Regions from separate parts of the Homo sapiens genome. Here all the other regions are linked to region 2. Evidence: promoter capture Hi-C in human tissues and cell types (Jung and others, 2019). All regions are on one chromosome and are shown on one strand. The core of a region is centred on a gene start or on the middle of the fragment in contact, and the rest is flanking DNA. Distances in the headings are between cores, read along the strand shown.

Evidence for each region. The method cuts DNA at HindIII sites, captures the fragments that hold promoters and counts their contacts. A contact is called where the count stands out against the background at its distance.
Region 1: a contact is called between a fragment that was not itself captured here and the fragment with the promoter of LMX1B in region 2, in 2 of the 25 tissues and cell types used here (lymphoblastoid cells and mesendoderm cells).
Region 3: a contact is called between a fragment that was not itself captured here and the fragment with the promoter of LMX1B in region 2, in 2 of the 25 tissues and cell types used here (bladder and heart right ventricle).

Annotation. Positions count from the first base shown.
Region 1 is chr9:126,736,495-126,741,491 of GRCh38, forward strand. No RefSeq gene overlaps it. Among named protein-coding and RNA genes, the nearest start is that of ZBTB43, 66 kb to the right of the region's middle. The HindIII fragment of the contact is 4,205 bases long and covers 1-3,387 here.
Region 2 is chr9:126,610,162-126,615,177 of GRCh38, forward strand. LMX1B (LIM homeobox transcription factor 1 beta) reads left to right here and starts at 3,767. Exons shown (of 8, transcript NM_001174147.2): 1 at 3,767-4,427. The coding sequence starts at 4,289. It overlaps LMX1B-DT (LMX1B divergent transcript), which reads right to left and starts at 3,638. Exons shown (of 2, transcript NR_184148.1): 1 at 3,288-3,638. RefSeq lists enhancers at 1-751, 2,695-3,663, 3,919-4,500, 4,501-5,016 and a silencer at 1,473-1,542. The HindIII fragment of the contact is 15,813 bases long and covers 1-5,016 here.
Region 3 is chr9:126,535,581-126,540,206 of GRCh38, forward strand. No RefSeq gene overlaps it. Among named protein-coding and RNA genes, the nearest start is that of LMX1B-DT, 76 kb to the right of the region's middle. RefSeq lists enhancers at 1-267, 1,093-1,593, 1,594-2,094. The HindIII fragment of the contact is 4,997 bases long and covers 1-4,626 here.

The DNA of each region.
Region 1 (4,997 bases), core at 35-2,534, 120 kb after region 2:
ATTTATTTAAAAAAAAGATCCAACTATATACCGTCTATAAGAGACAAACTTTAGATTTAAACATACAAATAGATTGATAATATAATAAAGGATGGAAAAATACATACCATACCAACATTAACCAGAAGAGAACTAGAGTAGCTATCCTAATATTAGACAAAATAGACTATAAGACAAAAAAAGTGTGTGTGTGTATATATATATATATATATATATATATGTATATATATATATATATATATATATGAATCATACAAGGTATCTCTTCTCCAACCACAATGAAATGAAATTATGAATCAATAACAGGAGGAAATTAGGAAAATTCGCTATGAAATTTCAACAACACAGTCCTAAATAACCAATGGGTCAAAGAAGAACTCAAAAGAAAAATTAGAAAATACTTTGAGATGAAGTAAAATAAAAACACAGCATACCAAACTTAGCTAAAACAGTGCTAAGAGGGAAATTTATAGCTGTCAATGCATGTTTTTAAAAAGAATGACCTCAAATCAAGAACCTAAACTTCCACCTTAGGAAACTAGAAAAAAAATTAAACTAAACCTCCAAAAAAGCAGAAAGAAAAAAATAATAAAAATTAAGTTGGAAATAAATGTGATAAAGAATAGAAAAACAACAAAGAAAAATCAACAAAACCAAAAGTTGTTTCTTTAAAGGATCAACAAAATTGACAATTCTTTAGCAGACTGACCAAGAAAAGAAAGGATTCAATTATTAAAATCAGAAATAAAAAAGAAGAAAATGTTACTGATCTTATAGAAACAAAAAGGAATATAAGGGAATACTATGAACAAATTAAATAACCTACATGAAAAGGATAAATTTTTAGAAAGACACAAACTACTGAAACTAAATTTAAAAATGGAATGTCTGAATAGACCTATAACAAACAAAGGGATCAAATTAGAAATAAAAAACTTTCCACAAAGAAAAGCCTAGGACCAGATGGCTTCACTGGTGAACTCTACCAAATGTTTGAAGAAGAATTTATACAAATCCTTTACAAACTCTTCCAAAAAACAGAAGATGAAATGTTACCATGCATTCTATGAAGCCAGTATTATCTTGATACTGAGACACCGACAAAGAAATCACACAAAAAGAAAAATACAGAACAATATCCCTTATGAATATACATGTAAAAGTTCTTAACAAAATATTAGCAAACCAAATCCACTAACATTTAAAAAGGAGTATACACTATGACCAAATGGAATTTATCTTAGGAATACAAGGTTGGTTCAACATAAGAAAGTCAAACAATGTAACGCACTATATTAATAGAATAAAGGACAAAAGCCACATGGTCAATAAATACAGAAAAGCATTTTACAAGAAAGAATGAGATTAACAAAACTCTGATGCAGTGCTTCAATTTTACACTTACTGAAAGCTTTTTAAAAACATCTATTAGATTTATTTTGTCATAGATGTTTATCATATATTACTCTCATGAATATATAAGAGGAAAATATAAGTGAAATCAATGAATTCCTAAAACTTTTCACATTCAGAGTACAATTCTTCTGAAGAATTGGTCAATATATATGTATATTCATATATTCATATCAAAGTATGGAAGGAGTACTAAAAAATACTGCAGTCCTTATTTCTGCAATGGGTGACATAGTTATCGTCAGTGTTTTAAATTTCCTTCTTTCAACCACCTAGTTCATAGTCCCTTTGCACTCATCAAGCACTCAACTCGTTGTGGTTCCTTGCCTTCTGGATTGACCCTAGCTTTCATTCTGAAGGTCTGTGCCACTAGCAGCCTTGTCTCTATTGGGATGTGGTGGTTCTTCATTAACCTTTATTCCAGGACATGAGACTACTAAAAGTTACCCACAAAAGACTTCTTGTATTCCACACAAACTCCTCCCTGCCCTTATTATAGAAATCCAAATTCTGGACTGATTTCTGGATCAATCAACCTAAACAGTACAATAAATCCTTCATTGCCTATTAGTTCATTGGTGTGAAGAGCCCAGTGTGGCCAGCTGGCAAACTCAGCTTCCAATTTAATGAAACCACATCTATACCCACGAATGAGAGCATTCCTCCCTTTGGAACCAACACCTCTAAACCAGCAGAGCCCCAAGTGTCAGGGACATGAAACAAAAATTTTGCTAGTGAACCATTGGAGTAAAAGTGAAAAGGGCCACTCTCATTTCCACCCTTTGATTCCAGGACCTTGAATCCTGTTTATGGAACAAATGAGACCACATATTGGTCACAATGATTCAGAGCATATACCATATCTTAGAAGGTTCTGCCTTAGCCCTACAAGATGTTGCCACACACCTGGTGTCATAATTGAGTCTTCCAAAAGCCATGTCATTATTTTATCAGGCCAGCTGCCACAGAGTAATGGGGAACCTGATAAGCCCAGTGAATTCCATGAGCCAGGAGCCTTCTGCCACACTTACTCATTTTCTGTAAAGTGAGTTTTCTCTGGTTAGAAGTGATGTTGTGCAGAATGCGATGACTGTGGATAAGGCTGTTGCCATAGTTTGAATATGCTTTGTTTGTCCCCACAAAATCTCATGTTGATATTTGATCCCCAAAGTTGGAGATTGGGCCTAAATAGGAGATGTTCAGGTCATGGGGGTAGATCCCCCATGAATAGATTAATGCCCTCCTCAGGGGTTAGGAGCGAGTGAGTTCTCACTCTATTTGGTCCCATGAGAGCTGATCATTAAAAAGAGCCTGGAACTTCTCCTGCCCTCTTGCTTCCTCTCTCGCCATGCTCTCTGCACATATGGCTCCCTTTCACCTTCTGCCATGAGTAGAAGCAACCTGAAGCCCTCACCACAACAAGATGCTGGCACCATGCTTCCTGTACAGGCTGCAAAACCATGAGCCAAATAAACCTCTTTTCTTTGTAAATTACCCAGTCTCCGGGAGTATCCCTTTATAACAACACAAAACGGACTAAGACAGGTGTGGATGGTGATTTTGAAAGAAGCATTGTGAGCAGAGAAAGCAAATCCACATCCAGAGTATCTATTCCAGTGGCAACAAAGTGCTGCCCCCTTTATGCTGTAAGTAGCCTGTATAACCAAACTGCCACCACATGGGGGGAATGGGCCCCCCACTGGAGCCTCTGAGGAATGGGGCCATCTTGGGGGCTCAGTGTTGGTCTCTGCTGCTGGCAGGTCAGGCACACAGCAGTGACTGTGGCCAGATCAGCTTTGTTAAGTGTAAGTCCATGTTGCTAAGCCTATGAATAACCTCCATCCCTGCCTACATAGCCACTTAGTTCATCATCCCATACAGGAGTAACTGGGGAGAGAGGTTGACTGGAATCCAGAGAATGGGGCATCCTGTCCACCTGAGTATTATGATTCTTCTCTGCTAAAGTTGCTCTTTGACGAGCATTTGCATGGACACAAATATCTTCACACCATGTGACAATTTAGGTTCATTCACATATCTCTTCCCCAGATCTCTTTGTCACCAACTATGCAATCTTGTTCTTTCCAAGTCCCTGACCATCCAACCAAACCATTAGCCATCTCCTGCAATTAATTTTTATTAATCACCTCAGATCTATACCTCTTGCCAGCTCTCCTTCCAGGAGAAATGAACAATAAGGTGCACTGCTCAACTCTCCACTGGGAGGACTTCCCATTCCCACTGCTCTTCGGAACCACCCCAGAGTGTGGTTTAGTACTACAGTGGTCCACCTATAGATTGTTCCAGCCTGTCTTGCAGAACCATTTATTTTCCAGTCCAAATGTTTTCTTTCTCAGTTAACTGGTCACTGGGAAACTTCTCATGACTGCACAGGTACAGACTGAAAAGGAGGAGGCAAAGTAGGAGAACCAGGAGTCACTTGTGCCTTTCAGATCCACTCAAGCCCAACCTAGTACAAAACACCTCTGCTTGCTGAGGGATTGATGGGATATGATGGTGTGGATACGGCAGAGTTGTCTGTGGGCCCACCAGGCACACAGTGAAGTTGACACAAGCCAAAACTCCATTAGTCACCCAATTGCCATAATCCCCTTCTTTCATTGGTGAACCACGATGTCATTTTGGGTCCCCAAGCATGCAGTGATCTCCAAAATTCTGGTTCTTTCCCCCTCCCCAGTGTATAGTCATCCTGGGAAATGGCTGCTGGTAGCTTAGGAAGGTCTAGGAGGAAGAGTCATGATGTATTGAAAAAGTTGCAGTGCACACTTTTGGCAGTAGCATTCCTTGTGTTGATTCAAGTCAGACTTCCATTCACTGGACCTAGAGCTTTTTTGCTTATCCGAATCAAGCAAGACTTTAATAATCAACTACCAATGCTAAAGCATTCTTCAGATCAGACCATTCTGGATACTGCTTTGGCTTCGCTGTCCATTATGGGAATCATGCCCACCTTGTCTCTGTTAAGTGCTACCACTTGGTCCCTGCTACCCCAGGATCCCATCATCCCTATTGAATCCAGAGAGCTCAGTTTCATGGCTCATGGCATCATTTCCCACTGTAATTCCTCTCTTGAAGAGAACTGATACTATGGGACTCTTCGGAGTTGCTGAGACTCCCTTCATCAATACCAATGCATTGCTTTTTCTTTTCTTTTCTTTTCTTCTTTTTCTGAGACAAGATCTCATTTTGTCACTTGATCATCAAGCTCATTGCAGCCTTGAATTCCTGGGCTCAAGTGATCTTCCTGCCTCAGCCTCCTGAGTAGCTGGGACTACAGGCATGTGCCACCATGGCCAGTTCAGTTTTTTTGTAGAGATGGGGTTTCACTATGTTACCCAGGCTGGTCTCAAACTCCTGGCTTTAAGCAGTTCTCCTGCCTCAGCCTCCCAAAGTGCTGGGATTACAGGAGTGAGCCACTGCACCCGGCCTTATTTCTAAAACCCTTGGTGAGCATATTATTTCCTAAAACTAATTATTGGTGAGCTAATTATCTCCTAAAGCCTTGATAAGCATAAACTTAGGGCCCTCCTGGGAGACATGGAGAGGGGGTGGGTGAGTAGGAC
Region 2 (5,016 bases), core at 2,517-5,016:
GGCTTGGCAGGGCTGATGGCGCCGGGACAGCGTGGGACGGCCCAGGCTCTCTGCAGCCCTGGTTCTCCGGGCAGAGTGGAATAGAGACACTCGCAGCTCCTGGTCCTTGCCTTCCCACTCCTCCGAACCCGGCCAGGACTGCACCCTGCGCTGCCCCAGATCCGTGCCTCCAGCTGGAATGGTAAACTGGGAGGGGGCAGTGTGGCTCTGGCTCTGGTCAGAAGCACAAAACAATCCAGACAGCCCGGAGCGGGATGGACAGGGCTGGGTGGGGTGGGGGAGGGCAGCTCATAGAGCCGTGCTCGAGGGAGGCGGGTAGCGCAGAGGAGAGGGTGCAAGGCCCTAAGAAGAGGAGCGGGGGGACTAGGGCGGGGCTCAATGGAGCTGGGGCGTCCGCAGACTGGAAGGAGCCGGGACCCCCGCTCCAGAGCCTCCCTTTCCATTCTCGCTTCTTCCAGTGATTCCGAGCCCCCGACTCAGTCTTTCCCCCAGGTAGAGAGAATCCGAGGCTGTTTCTGCCGCTGAAATCTGAGCGGGAGAGCATCCCGAAGCCGCCTGCGTGGAGCGAGCAGCCCCCGCGTCATGGGCCAGAGGCGCCCGGGAGAATCTGCGGGTCACGGATCACACCCGCAGGGGCCTGGCGGAGCAAGGTGCCGTTCGCCGCCTGCGGGCAGGAGCCGGCTCTGGGCCTCGGCCCCTGCTGTGCCGTCCAGTCGGCCGCTTCTTCGCTTCTTCGGCAAGGGAAGCGGTGGAGAGGCGCGGGAGCCCCGATTGTGCTGGAGAGATCTGGGACCCCTGCGCGTCTGCGTGCGAAGGACCCGAGACCGGCCAACTCAGCTGGGAGCACGGGACACGAGGAGTGAGGACAAAGGGCAAGGAACGGGGCCTATAGGGAGGGTGTGTGTGTGTGTGTGTGTGTGTGTGTGTGTGTGTGTGTGTGTGTGTGTGTGTGTGTGTGTAGGGGGAATGAATGGACAGCGGGGAAGGCATGCAGAGGGGCCCAAGGGGTGTGGACTCAGCAGCCCCACCCCAGACCAGAGAAGGCAGCCAGGCTCTGGCGTCCACCGAGCCAGCGCCCCTATCTGGGCGCGGGCCGCATGGCGGCAGACCACCCTATATCCGCCTTGGTGGCGTGGGATATGACTGGCAGGAGCGCGGAAGAGGCGCTGAGAATGCATGCGCACCCGGACAGACCAGACGCGGCACGGAGGGGGTACTTCCCACAAGTCCTCCTGCCTTGAGACCAGGCCTTCGAGTGGTCCGGGGAATGCGCCTCTGGGCACAGCCAGCGGCCCCAGATCGGCACTGGACGCCAACCCGAGTTAGAGAAGCCTGGGAGACTGGATCGCAGGGGCCCTCATTCAGCCAAGGAGGGGGAAAGGAGAGCTGTAGGGTAGGAGAGGCCAGGCACAGGGAAGGTGGGGAGGGGATGGAGCCTTGCGCCAGGAGTTGGGGGTGCAGGGCCTGTGACGAGAGAGTATTACCATGTGCACCCTGAAGGAGAGGGAGAGGGTCTGGGCCTGGAACGAGGACTCTCGCCTGCAGGCAGTCGCCCAGCCCCGGTTGCAGGGATGGACCGCGACCAGCAGAGGGCAGAAAGTGCCTGGTCCGCCCGCCGGCCCCGAGCCGCGCTCCGCGCCTCGGGACTCTGGCTCTGTGCGCCGAAGCCTTGCCCGCCCGGCTTCTCCCTGCAGCAGCCGCGCCCCCGCCCCAGATGCCCGGAGAAGGCGGCTCAGGCCCAGCCCAACTTCGCGGGTCCAGGCCTGGGGTTTCCAGGTCAAGCAAAGAGGGGACCGAGATGTGGGAGAGAAACTCCACATTGACTGTCCACTCTCCCCGACCTAGCCACACAAAGGCGCCTAGAAATACACGAAGGCACAAAGCCCCCCACCACACACAAACACACACACACACACACACGCTAGGAGACACGCGAGCACACAGAAGCATTCAGAACCCCGGAGATAAGCACAGATACGCAAAGCTGACAGAGACACCCATACAGAAAAGGATCGCAGACACAACACAGAGGCTGAGACACGCACAAAGACTTAGGCCCCCGCATGAAATGATGCGGACACACACCCCAGACACAGGCACGAAGGACCCACACATTCACATACACACGGGTGCAGGGGACTCAGACACAGATCCACAGATTCACCCCTGGGAGTCTGGAAGGTTGCAGGGACACACATACCGTGTGTGCAGAGCCAAGGAGCACACGGAGGCAAGAGCCGCAGAGGCGGGGGCCCGACACGCACAGACACACACAGATACCCACCGACACACACGCAGGTAGGGTAGGGCGGGAGCCTCTAATCCTCCACAAAGCCGGGCCCCTCCGCGGGGCCCCGCGGCGCAGGGGGCCACTTCTGACCAAGCCTCCCGCAGGTTCCAAATCCGATCCGCCCTTTCGCCTCCAGCGAGGTCAGGGGACCCGCCCCCCATGCCCTCCGCCCCCGCCCGGCTCCGCGCCGCTGCCTCGCTCCGGGAGGGGCCGGGGCCGCCCCGCAGCGGATCGCGGGGGGTCAGCCCGCCGCTACCCCGGGCCGCAACCGCCCCCCTGCTCCCCGGTGAGCCGCGCGTCGGTGGGGACCACGGGCCGCAGACAGCCGGTCCGACGCTGTGGCCTCTCGCACCGGACGCGGGTGCCAGGCCCGGCTGGCGCGGAAGTCGGCAGCTCCATCTCGCCAGCTTTCGCGTCCCGTTGCCGAGGTCCACTTTGCCCAGGCTGGCTAGAGCACTGTCCTTGATCCGCGCGTCCCAGCGACCCCTGGCCGGGCACCCGACCCGCCAAAGGACCCCGATCTTGGCAGCCAACCTAATTTCTTCAGAGCCGCTACCCTGGGGCCACCACTCCCTCCTAGCGCCCCTCACTGCAAACCCTAGGAGGCCCGGGTCTTGCCCACTGCTCCTGCCCCTGCCCGGGGACCCCTTTTCCAGCCTTAGTTGTCCTCTAAACTCTCGGTCGCCTGAACCCAGGCCTGACCTTCCTTGTCGTCCCAGTGTCCCCCATTCTCGATCCCGGGGCCCCAACCTCCCATCGGCTCAGTCCCCCGCCCAATCTCTGCCAGGCCCGGAGCTTTCCCAGACCCCTCACCCACACTCCAGGCTCACTCCCCGTTCCTGGGCCTGGGCCCCCCTTGCACGAGTCCAGGGCCAGCCGTCCTCGCCTTCTGCCCGCCCCCGTCCTTCGTTCCTGGGAGCCGGCCCTCTCCGCGGACCAAGCGGCCCCGAGCAGGCGCCGCCGCCCGGGGGACTCCGACTCAGCCCCCGCGACCTACCTCGGCCGACAGTCGGGGGTTCCCAAGCGGCCACTCCCGGCCGGCGCCGTCCCCTGGCGGAGCCGCCGCGCTCCCTGCCGTCCGCGCAGTCTGGCCTCGCTCGGGGCCACTCCTCGTAGCGCTGGAGCTTTACAAAATATTAATAATAAAGAAGGCAGAGGAGAAAAAAGAAAGCCTTCGCTCCCCAACTCCCAAATCAATTTTTCAAGGGGGTGGAGCAGAGGGATTTGTTTCGAAGACGATCAAAACTTCTGCGAGGGGCCCGCGGGGCGGCCGGGCCGGGGAGCCGGGGCCTGAGCTCGGGGCCAGGCGCGGCGCGGGGCGCGGGCCAGGGGCGCGGAGCCCCGGGGCGCGCGGGGGGGCGGGACGGCACTATTTGACGTGGAGCCGGCGGCGCATCCCGGCGCAGGGATACCGGCCGCGGGGTTCAAATGTCAGGAAGTTTCGGGAGGTGAGGCGGCCCGTATCCCTCCGCCGCCAGCCCCAGCTCTAAACCCGGCGGCTCAGCGGGCGCACCATGGCACTGGAGTAGCGCGGGGAGCGCGCCCGGAGCCCCGCGGCCCGCTGCGCCCCGCCCGGGACCCCGCTGCGCCGCGCGCCCCCCCCGCGGCCCGCGGGGCCGCCCCTGCACCCCCACCCCCTCCCCCGCCTGCCGCCGCCGCCACCGCCACCGCCGCCGCCGCCTCCTCCCCGCGGCTCCGTCTGCAGCAGCCGCCGCCGCCGGGTTCCGGGACTGACAAGCAGGTGACAGAGGAGCCGGCGCGCGTGGCTGCAAGTGTCCGGGAGAGCGCGGCGCGGGCTGCAGCCGCCCCGGCCCGCCCGCACGACGCCGGGGCCCGGGGCCAGCGCGTCGCCGCTCCACGATCGCCGGGGGCCGGCGCAACCCCTGCCCTGCGGGGGCCGCGCCTCCCCGGTTCCAGGGCCGCGGCGGCGGAGAGCGGGTGGACGGGCCGGCGGGCGAGCAGCCCGGCCGGCGGGGTCCGCAGCGCGCCCCGCGTCCCATGGATATAGCAACAGGTCCCGAGTCGCTGGAGAGGTGCTTCCCTCGCGGGCAGACGGACTGCGCCAAGATGTTGGACGGCATCAAGATGGAGGAGCACGCCCTGCGCCCCGGGCCCGCCACTCTGGGGGTGCTGCTGGGTGAGTGCGGGGTCGGAACGCCCGAGTGGTCTCGGGCGTGGGATGGGGCGTCGTCCGGCTGTGGACACGGGCGTTGGGGCCAACGGATAAAGGAAATGGGTTTGCAGGACATGGGGAGGAGGCAGAGACAGGACTCCTGGAGTGATCGCCAGAGGGCCGCAAGTACGCCTCCGGCAGGCGTCCTGAGGGGACAGGACAGCTCCAGTCGCCACCCACCATCCTTTCCAGGCTTAGGTTCTAGAGCTGCCACTCCGATGTGGTAGGTGGCGGGTGGCAGGGGTGATGGAGGACCTAGCAATCACCTTGGCGAGCTTGGGAGAGGCGCAAGGTCACCTGGGGTGGGGGAGATTCTAAGAGAAAAACGTCTCCCTGGTCACTCAAACCACAGATTTTGGGGAGATCGGGGATAGAAGACCACGAACGCCACCGTGGGGCGTGTCAGCCAGCGAGCGCCCCAGCCTCACCTCGCCTGTCTTGGTCCCAGCCGGCCACCCTGCGCCGTGCTCGTTGTCATTTGTCTTAACACGGAGCGCGGATTCTCCGGAGAAGGGGAGAGCACAGCGCCGAGCCAAGGCTCGAGGCCCGCGGC
Region 3 (4,626 bases), core at 1,142-3,641, 76 kb before region 2:
CCTTTGAATGTGTGTATGTCTTATTGTTTGCCTCTCCTTCCACTAGGCCATGAATACCTTGAGGGCAGGATCCGAATTTGTTATTAGTATTAAAATAACAATAACACAGCTGGGCACGGTGACTCACGCTGTAATCCCAGCACTTTGGGAGGCTGAGGCGGGCAGATCACTTGAGGTCAGAAGTTCGAGACCAGCCTAGCCAACATAGTGAAACCCCATCTGTACTAAAAATACAAAAATTAGCCAGGCGTGGTGGCAGACTCCTGTAATCCTAGCCATTCAGGAGCCTGAGGCAGGAGAATCGCTTGAACTAGGGAGGTGGAGGTTGCATTGAGCTGAGATTGCACCACTACACTCCAGCCTGGGGGACAGAGTGAGACTCCATCTCAAAAATGAATAAAATAAAAATAACAATAATACACTAGTGGTCAGGTCCCCACTTATGAAGCGGAGGTTGCAGTGAGCCGAGATTGCACCACTACACTCCAGCCTGGGTGACAGTGAGACTCCGTCTCAAAAATGAACAAAATAAAAATAACAATAATACACTAGCGGTCCCCACTTATGAAGCATTTACTATATGCCAGTTGCTTTATAAGCATTGGCTTATTAAACCGCCACAGCACCCGGAAGGGACGTTTTACTGTCCCCATTTCACAGGTGAGGAAACTGGTGCTCAGGGACAGAACATTACTTGCTCAAGGACACCTGTCTCTGCCACTTACCAGCCGGGTGACCTCCCTTCCCCTCCCTGATGACTGCGTCTGTATGTCTGTATTGTGAGATTGTAGCAGTGGGGTGTGGGCATCGGTCCATGTCAGTTTGCAAGAGCTGCTGGTTACATTTTCAAGAATTAATGTTACAAGCTGGTTGTTAAACACAGCCTTTGTTAAACATTTAAATTATGTAAACTTAAATAAATGATATTCAAATCAAAGGTAATAAACACTCCAAACTCATCCATTCCTATACGTTTACTTCATTTTCCTATCATCTATGCCCTTGAGCTCATGTCTACTGTATCTGTGTTGGAAATGCCACATCATGGCAGCTGTGGCACATCTGTGCCTAACTCCACGTGCAGTAACATCATGTTCACCACTTGAAATCAGCCATAGTAGGAGTATTTACACCATAGACATGGTCAAACTCCACAAATCAGGGCTTTTTTCCTCCAGAGAGCAGGTTGTGAGACATGTAGCAGCACATTACTGGGTTATAGAGAAACGCCAAGAAAGAACTCTGCCCACAGCTCTGAGCACAGTGCCAGGTACACACTAAGCACTCAATAAAAGTTTGTTTTGATGAAGATTATAAGAGTGATGATGACAACAATGCCAGTGACATCATGCTCCCCATATCCCCACCCCCAAACCACTCCTACCAGTCCAGGCCTCTATCCTGAGCTCCATGAGCCCCGTGGCCCAGCTTCCTAGACACCCAAAATAGAATCTCCCCCTTGAGGGCCCCTGGGTCAGAGAATGGCATCTTCATCCCCCACGGCCCCGCCAGCAGCCCAGGCAGCTGTCTTGCCTCCTCTGCCATTTCTTGTCTGCACTGGGGTCATTCTCTCTCACTGTTGCCCATCTCACTCCCCCCCTCCAGCCCGCCCTCCTCCAGACGGGCAATGCCACCATCCCCAAGCGTGAATCTGACCCTGTTACCCTTCCCTGGGTCCTGGTCACCTCTGGAAGTTCCGGGCTCCTCGGCCGTCATCTGAGGCTCTGCCCAGCCTCCTGCTGCTGCCTAGGAGTACACAGCCCCATCGCCTGCCCATCCCTCGGGTGCACCCTGCCCCAGCCACACCAAACTGCTCACATTGATGGATGGCATTCTTCCAGATGCTATTCCAGGTACTGGGGCTACAGGGTAGACAAGACAAAATCCTTGTTCTCTTGAAGTTTTCATTTTAGTAGGTTAAAACAAATTTTAATTTAAAAAGCAGCATGTGTGTGTGTGTGTATGTGTGTGTGTGCATTGTGTGTGTCTAATATCAGGTGGCATTGTTATTAGGTTGGTACAAAAGTAATGCGTTTTTTTGCCATTAAAAGTAATGTCAAAAAACTCAATTACTTTTGCACCAACCTAATAGCATGGAGAAAAATAAGCAGGATAAAGACCAAGACAGTCACCGTGGGAGTTGCTGTGTTATATGGGAGTCAAGAACAACCTTATTCATTGGTGACCTTTGGGCGGAGACCTGAAGAAAGAGATGGTGTGGCTCTCCAGGCAGAAGGAAGAGCCAGTGCAAAGGCCCCGAGCTGAGACTGTTTTTCTATCTAAGGAAGAGCAATGGCTGGAATGGAGTGACCAGGTAAATTCAGAGAAACACAGGGGCCAGATTGTGTAGGGTGTGATTGTTCATGCTTAGGACTTTGGAATTTATCTGGAGTGAGCTAAGAAGCCAGTAGTGGGTTTTCAGCAGGGGAGTGATGTGACAGACACATTTCAAAAGCTTCACTCTGGCTGCCGTGCTGATTTGGAAGTCTTGGGCAGACCCCGGGACACAGGCTAGGAGGTGGCTACAATTATCTTCCAATGAGAGATGACGATTCTTCTTTCTGGTCTTTGGCTCATGGTATCCCCTTATCCTAGAATGACCCCCCACTTCTCCTCATTATGTAAGACTAAATCCAGGTTCACCTCCTCCAGGAAGCCACCTCTGATCTCTCCTACCCAGGTTGGGTCAGGTGGCCTCCTGTGTGCTCCCATAGGCCCAGTCACGCCCCTCTCACTGAACTGAAAGGCCTGTTTACCCACCTGGTTCCCCAATAGCCAGAGAGCAACTTGAGGACAGAGGCTGGGAATCTCTGTCTCCAGGACCAGCACATGATCAGGCACAGAAGAGATGCTCAGAGAGGACAGGGGCGGTGGCTCATGCCTATAATCCCAGCACTTCGGGAGGCCAAGGCGGGTGGATCACTTGAAGTCAGGAGTTCAAGACCAGTCTGGCCAACTCGGTGAAACCCCATCTCTACTAAAAATAATAATGAAAAACATAGCTAGGCATGGTGGCATGCACCTGTAATCCCAGCTACTCGGGAGGCTGAGACACAAGAATTGCTTGAATCTGGGAGGCAGCAATTGCAGTGATCTGAGATCACAGCACTGCACTCCAGCCTGGGCAACAGAGTGAGACTCCATCTCAAAAACAACAACAACAACAACAAAAAAAAGAAACAAAAGGTGCTCAGTGAACATGTGTTGACATGAGCTAAAAGACACAGTGATATTATCAGAGTGAATGTCCTTCCACAAATACTTGTCAAAGGTAAGCTTCTACAGGGTGCCAGAGATTCCATCCCAAACAAAATAAACATGGTCCCTGCTCTTGTGACTCTCCCACTCTAGGGTTGGGGAACTTCCAGAAGCTAGGGGTGGCCAGGGTAGCAAAAGAGGGGTGAAGAATAGTAAGAGCTGAGGCAGAGTAAATCATGCTGTACCTTTAATGTCGTGGTAGAGAAGTTGCAATTTCTCCCGTGATCACTGAGAAACTGTTGAAAGCACGTGGCATAGTCAAATGTTTTTAAAAGATGACCCTAAAATGGCACCAGGCCCAGATGATTCTATCAGTTCTCTCAAAGAATAGTGTACATGTAATTTATACTTTTCCAAAGATGAGAAGTTTCACTTATAATTTTGTGAGTTTAGTACAAATCTAATCCCATAACCCAACAAAGACAGCTTTATAAACCCCATAGATGACTAATCTCATCTATAAACAGCGATGAGGAAACACAAAATCAAATGCTATCATAGAGAAAGTAGCAAAACATTAAAGATATTGACTGGGCACAGTGGCTCATGCCTATAATCCCAGCACTTTGAGAAGCTGAGGTGGACGGATTGCTCAAGCCCAGGAGTTCGAGACCAGCCTGGACTACATGGCAAAACCCTGTCTCTACAAAAAATACAAAAGTTAACCAGGCGTGGTAGCGTGCACCTGTAATCCCAGCTACTCCGGAGGCTAAGGTGGGAGGATTGCTTGAGCCCAGGAGGTCAAGGATGTAGTGAGCTGTGATCATGCCACTGCACTTCAGCCTGGATGACAGAGTGAGACCGCATCTCAAAAGAAAAAGAAAAAAAAACATTAAAAATCTAATACACCATTCTAGGAATACAGGTTCAGATGAGGAAAGTCTGTTTATATTATCTATCTCGCTTAATGCCCATTCTCAATCTAAATATTGTGCAGACTTTGTACTTAAGAGTGAACGCCAGCCGGGCATGGTGGCCACACCTGTAATCCCAGCACATTGGGAGGCCAAGACGGGCGGATCACTTGAGGTCAGGAGTTCGAGACCAGCCTGGCCAACACGGTGAAACCCCATCTCTACTAAAAATACACAAATTAGCTGGACATAGCGGTGCACACCTGTTGTCCCAGGTACTCAGGAGGCTGAGGCAGGAGAATCACTTGAACCCGGGTGGTGGAGGCTGCAGTGAGCTGAGATTGTGCCACTGCACTCCAGCCTGGGCAACAAGAGGGAGACTCTGTCTCAAAAAAAAAAAAAAAAAAGAGTGAACATCGTGGCAGGTATATGAACCAGACCTGGCTATGACGAGGATGCCTGTGTGACACAGCATTGCCCCGGGTATGCTGGATGCTAGCGCACTGTCCTCCTC